2 separate regions of the Homo sapiens genome follow, and region 1 is linked to region 2. Evidence: promoter capture Hi-C in human tissues and cell types (Jung and others, 2019). All regions are on one chromosome and are shown on one strand. The core of a region is centred on a gene start or on the middle of the fragment in contact, and the rest is flanking DNA. Distances in the headings are between cores, read along the strand shown. Region 1 overlaps VSTM2B-DT (VSTM2B divergent transcript). Region 2 holds the start of VSTM2B (V-set and transmembrane domain containing 2B).

Evidence for each region. Contacts are between HindIII fragments. The study calls those that stand out against the background at their distance.
Region 1: a fragment that was not itself captured here is called in contact with the fragment with the promoter of VSTM2B in region 2 in 3 of the 25 tissues and cell types used here (H1 embryonic stem cells, dorsolateral prefrontal cortex and mesendoderm cells).

The regions. Positions count from the first base shown.
Region 1 is chr19:29,290,690-29,293,389 of GRCh38, reverse strand. The region is part of intron 9 of VSTM2B-DT (VSTM2B divergent transcript); the gene reads left to right. Among named protein-coding and RNA genes, the nearest start is that of UQCRFS1-DT, 79 kb to the right of the region's middle. The HindIII fragment of the contact is 8,231 bases long and covers 1-2,700 here.
Region 2 is chr19:29,524,544-29,527,243 of GRCh38, reverse strand. It overlaps VSTM2B (V-set and transmembrane domain containing 2B), which reads right to left and starts at 1,250. Exons shown (of 5, transcript NM_001146339.2): 1 at 579-1,250; 2 at 1-33. The coding sequence starts at 660. It overlaps VSTM2B-DT (VSTM2B divergent transcript), which reads left to right and starts at 1,494. Exons shown (of 10, transcript NR_040029.2): 1 at 1,494-1,820. The region is part of intron 1 of LOC124904683 (a long non-coding RNA gene); the gene reads left to right. The HindIII fragment of the contact is 17,468 bases long and covers 1-2,700 here.

The DNA of each region.
Region 1 (2,700 bases), core at 26-2,525, 230 kb after region 2:
GGTCTGCAGGGCTGCACTGACCAGGCTCCCGTGACCTCTGTTTCCAGCTCGGTTAGTCAATGGGGGCGGGACTGGTTGGATGGAAGAAAGAGATCGGGATATTCATCTGCCCTGCTCCCTCCCTGCTAGGCTAAAAGTGGCAGGGGTTGGGCTCCTCTCTGAAATCCCCAGCTCCTTCCTGTGGCCTCTTCCACAGTGGCACTGTCCCCTGTGGGTCAGGCAGTAGTGATGTGCACAGCCGTGGCCTTGGGTTTACTGCATCCCTCTAGTCCTCTCTATCCCATGTGAGCAGTCCCTTCACTAAACTCTTCTCAATGACTCTGAGTGTGCCTCAGTTTCCCCAAGACCCCTGACAGATACAGAAGGTGACACCTGTGTGTTCCTGGTGGCCTAGGGAAGACCCCATGAGGGTCTCTCCCTCCAGAAACTCTTCTCTTTTCTTTGCCCACAGTTTCTTCTCTCTCGCTTTCTACCTATTGCTATTTTTTTCTCATCATTCAAGCTGATGTTCTGATGTCCCTTCTCCTGGGGGTCTTCCAGGATGTCTCTGGTCAGCTTATGGAGCCTCCCACCAGGCCATCTCAGGCATTGCTTAGCCAGGTTGGTTGCTGACAACTGGAACGCCCTAGGACATTGGCATAATCCGAGGGCAGGGGCCACATTTGTCATCCCTGGGCTTCCCTCTCTGGCATGGGACCCGGCTGAGCTGCGTTTTTGGTAGTGATAACTGGGTACCAAATAGATCTGAATTACAGCCCAGAGTCCTGTGTTCTTCAGGCTTAAGGGGGCCACACTTTCCTCCAACTTCAAATATGCAGACTCAAGCCCCTACTCTGCATGCTGTGAGATGTCTAGTGTCTTCTCAACTTCTCCGAGGATTCCTAAGGGAGCACATATCCCTGGATACTCAGCCCTGAGATAGGAGGCGGGACTTGACTTTGGAGGCAGGGCTCAGACACCGGACCAAATTGCGGACTAGCTAAAACAGGTACAAGGCAGAAGCAGCTTCCCGTAAGACACACCCACCAGTGTACCATGTCAGTTACCATTGCCATGGCAACACCTGGGAGTTACCACCCTTTTCTTAGAAATTTCTGCATAACCCTCCCCTTAATTTGCATGTCATTAAAAGTGGGTATAAATATGAGTGCAGCACTGCCTCTGAACTGCTACTCTGGGCCCACTGCCTGTGGGGTATCCCTGCTCTGCAAGGAGCAGTCCTTCTACTGCTGCTGTGCACTGCAGCTTCCATAAAACGTGTCTGATACCACCAGCTCACCCTTGAATGCTTTCCTGGGTGAAGCCAAGAGTCCTCCTGGGCTGAGACCCAGTTTTGGAGCTCACCTACCTGCATCTGCCCTGCTGAGTTCTTGTCCCCCACTCTCTTTCCATGGCTGCTCTCTTCTCTCTATCTTAATTCACCCCCAATGTTCCTCTTTCTTTGTTTCCCAAAGCATAACTAATGAGAGGCTAAGATGTTTCATACCGAAGGGTCAGGGACACCAGATAGTTAATATCAGCATATCACAGAATGCACCGACTTGATGTGGCTGTTTTGTGAGCAATCCTTGCCTTGTGGCCCCCTGACCATCCCTCTACAGGGAGTAACTCCTGACTGCCTTCCTTCCAAGGTCCAATCCACTCCTGCCAGTTGACCTTTGTGTCCCAAGCTCCGTCAATTTTCTTCTTCGCATCACAAGCCCCCTCCAAACAAACAAGACAAAAACTCCAATCACTACAGAGCAGAGCGCTCTGCCTTTCTCCTTCCCACTGTGCCCTGGGGCCTATATTTTCACACACACAAAGAGATCCTCTGAAGTATGTTTCTAAACAAAAAGGCCACCTACCCCTACGAAGAACTTGGCCTCTGCCTGAGAGTGCTGCAGCCACTGCAGTCAAATTTTGTTTTAAATAACAGCATCTTTTCTTCTTGTTACTCAATTCTAACTTAGGCTTCTGGGCTGGGGCCCCGGGGGTCACTTGTCTATTCCAAACTTTCCTAGGAGTCATTGAGGCTGGGCACTGTTTTTCACAATGACTTCTGCTCTCATTTGGTGCTTAGCACACTGCTGGGCACAGGTGCTGCTGCAGATGGCTCTCATGCTCTGTGCCACATCCTGGGCCCTCCTGACATCAGCACTGCAGTGAGCAGTGCCAGGCCCATCACCAGGGTCTCACTTCTGGCAGGCAGCCTGCAACCTCTGCTTTTTTGATTCGGAGCTTTCTTTGAGCTGTGGGAGTCTAATCAGCCATGCAGAGGCACAGTCTGGAAGAGCAGAAGGGTTAACACACTCAAGGATGAACCCTCTACCAGCAGGGGATGCTGTGGGGATCCACGCCCAATCTCTAGTCCTTCAGAGGGGCAGTTCTGAGCTCCATGCTCCCCTGCTCTCCAGAGACTGCTCGAAGAATTTCACAACACTGCGTTGGCCCTGCAGATTGGGCCCCCATTTCCCACAGGGCTGCACCCTGTCACTGGCTTCCTCCTGCTCCGTTGCTCCTGTTCCCTGAGGTCACCTCTCAAATCAACTACTTGCACCCAAGTCATTGTTCAGGGTCTGCTTTAAGAGACACCCTAACTAGGACAGGAATTCAGCGGCTGCGGGTTTAGTATCTTCAGTGACAAGTCGTGGGACCAGGCTGGGGCCTGCCGGCTGCCTGTTGGTGCAGAGCCGCTCTTCAGAGCTTTGCTGACAATCC
Region 2 (2,700 bases), core at 1-2,500:
CTGTCACATCTTTGGGGACTTCTGTGAATGCAGCTGGGGGTGGGGAGAGAGAGAGAGGCGTGACCAGCTGTAGGTCGGGGGCCTGGGGCAACCTAAAGCGAGGCAGTCGGTCTCTGGCTGGCTGGCCTTGTGCCCCCCACCCCGCAGCTGCTCCCTGGCGCACGGCCGGAGGGGCTAGCAAAGTTCGGGGAAGCGGCTGCAGGGCCGAGGCAGGGACCGGCCATCGGCTGCCTACTGCTTCCCTCCGGATGGGGCGGGGCGGCAGGGGCGACTCGTGCTTCTCCCCCGCCCCTGGCCGCACCGCCAGAGCCTGGCTGGGGCGCGCCTACTCCCGCTCCCCGCAGGCATCCTTTCCGCAGCCGGGGCCCCGGCGGGACTGGGAACGACTCGGGCGCGGCGCTGCTGCTGCGGCGACCCTTCGCCGCTCGCCTCTCCCTACCCCTCCGGGCCCAGGCTGCACAGCGGGATTGCTGGAGACCGCGAAGCTTCCCGGTTCGTTCTCTTTCTTCTTCTTCTCGGTGGCGGCCCCAGCAAAGACCCCCCCGAGTCCACAGCGGCAGCAAAGTTCCCGCGCTCACCGTCGGCCACGAAGAGCAGCAGGGCATGCAGCAGCAGAGGCGGCAGGTATCCGAGGGCACCGAGCCGGTTCCGCTGTTCCATCTCCCGCGGGGGGCGCGGTGGCGGCGGGGGCCCGGGAGCGGAGAGGCGGCGGCCGCGTGGGCTCGGATCGGCTCCGGCTCGGGCTAGGACGCCTCCGAGCCTGCCATGGCCCCGCGCGGCGCCCCCTCCCCTGGCCGCCGGCGGCCGCCAATCAGCCCCGCTCCCTCGCCGGCTTGCCCGGTGCGGCTCCGGCGGGGGGCGCTGCGCGGGGTGTGCAGGAGACGCGGTCCCACCGGGAGGCTGCTGGCGATCGGTCAGTGCCTCTCTCTGTCCGGTCGTCCACAGGACGGTGGGGATCCGCGGTTCAGTCTCTGCCCGGCGGGCCGGGCAGGGGCTGGGCCGCGCCGGGACCCATCCCTGGCCGAGGGAGTGCGTGCCACGGAGCCGCGAGCTTCTGCCTCCCTGTCTCCTTCTGGTTCTGCTCCCGATTGCCACCTCCTTCGGCTCCCGCAGCCGCCCCCGCCGGTTCCTCCGCGGCTCTTTCCGCAGGGCGAGTGGGCGCTCAGCCGCGGCGCGCAGACCTGGCGTCCGACCCAGCGCAGCGCGGGGAGAGCGGGTCCGGCGTGGCGGACCCGGAGCCGGAGAGAGGCGGGGAGAGGGGGAGGGGAGGGGAAGGGAGGGGGCGGTCAGTGGCTGGGCGCCAAGCCGCCTCCACCGCTGCATCGCCCCCGCCCTCCCCTCTCCTGCCACAGCCCGCCCCGCCCCCGCCCCAGAGCGCTCCCCCTCTCTCCTCGGGGGTCGCTCGGAGGGACCACCGTCTTTCTGGTTGGAGTACAGCCCCGCCCCGCACCCGCTTGGGTTGGGAGTCCTCCCACCCAAACTCTCCCTGGCTTCTTCCCAGTCTGCACGGCTCGAGACGGCCGCTCATCCCTGCTCCCCGTGTGTCCCTCGGTCCTCTCTGCAGCTCCCAGCCCTCAACTCCTTACCCCAGTTTGGGCAACCAGCTGCCCCGCTGTTTGGCCCAGGCCTGGGCCATGACGGATGGGTGGGCGCCCGGGGCCGCGAGAAGGGCGGAACGCTGTGCCCAGCCGGAGACTACGCTGGGTGGCGGCGGCAGCGCCGGGAGTCTGCAGTGCGCGAGGGAGAAGTGAGCGCACAGCGCCCAGCGAGCAGGTGCCTGCGGCGCGGAGAGCGCACACGCTAGCCAGCCCGCAGCGGCCGTGAGTGACGGCAGGGGCGGCGGGGGTGGGGTGGGGTGGGGAGCGCCGGGCACGACTCAGGGCCCGGGAGGTTTCCGGGAGGGGGCGGGGTTCCTGCCCCTGGATCGCGGGTCCCTGTGTCTCCACGCGCTCTTCGCCGGTCGTGGCCCCTTCTTTGCCCGGTGCAAAGCGAGATGCCGAGGCGGCAGGAAGCCGGAACCCATCCCCCGCCTGCTCTGGCGTACTCGGCATCCCGGTACCTCCCCCAGCCTTCACCCGGAGTCTGCTCCCTCCCCAGCCATCTGAGGGAGCGCGGTCTGGTCCCCGAAGGCAAATGCGGGGTGGACATGTGGTTCGGACGCAGCGCGTAGTCATAGTCATAGGGGCGAGTCCTAAGGCTCGCCTTGGGTCTCTCCTATCTCCTTCCCCCGGGAGTCCCCAGCTAGTGCGTTTCGGCACCTCTGCCCCTACCCCGGCCCCTACGCCTCAGCTCTGACCTCAGGTTGGGGTGGGGCAGCCCGGTGGATTCACGTGCCTGCTTCCCCGGCTACCAGCCTCCCGGAGGCACCGCCAGAGGATTCCCTGGGAGCCAAGGAGAAGGAAACCCAGAGGGAAAACACTCTCCAGCAGCCACCCTGGTCCAGGCGGCCAGCGCAGCACAGCTCAGAGGGGAGGAGCTGCAGGCCCTCTCCAAGGCTGTCCTCGCCAGCGGGTGCCCGGGGCCAGCCCTTCTTGCCTCCAGTGCCTGCCTTTCAGTTTCCTCGTCTATGGCCCAGGAGTCACTCCCACCCCCTGGCTCACTGTGGCTCATCTATCAAGCCCTTGTTTTCTAAGGTCTCCTGCTGGGGGCAAAGGGAAGAAGGGGGTCCTATAGGACTTTCCTCCTTTCCCTCAAGTTCCT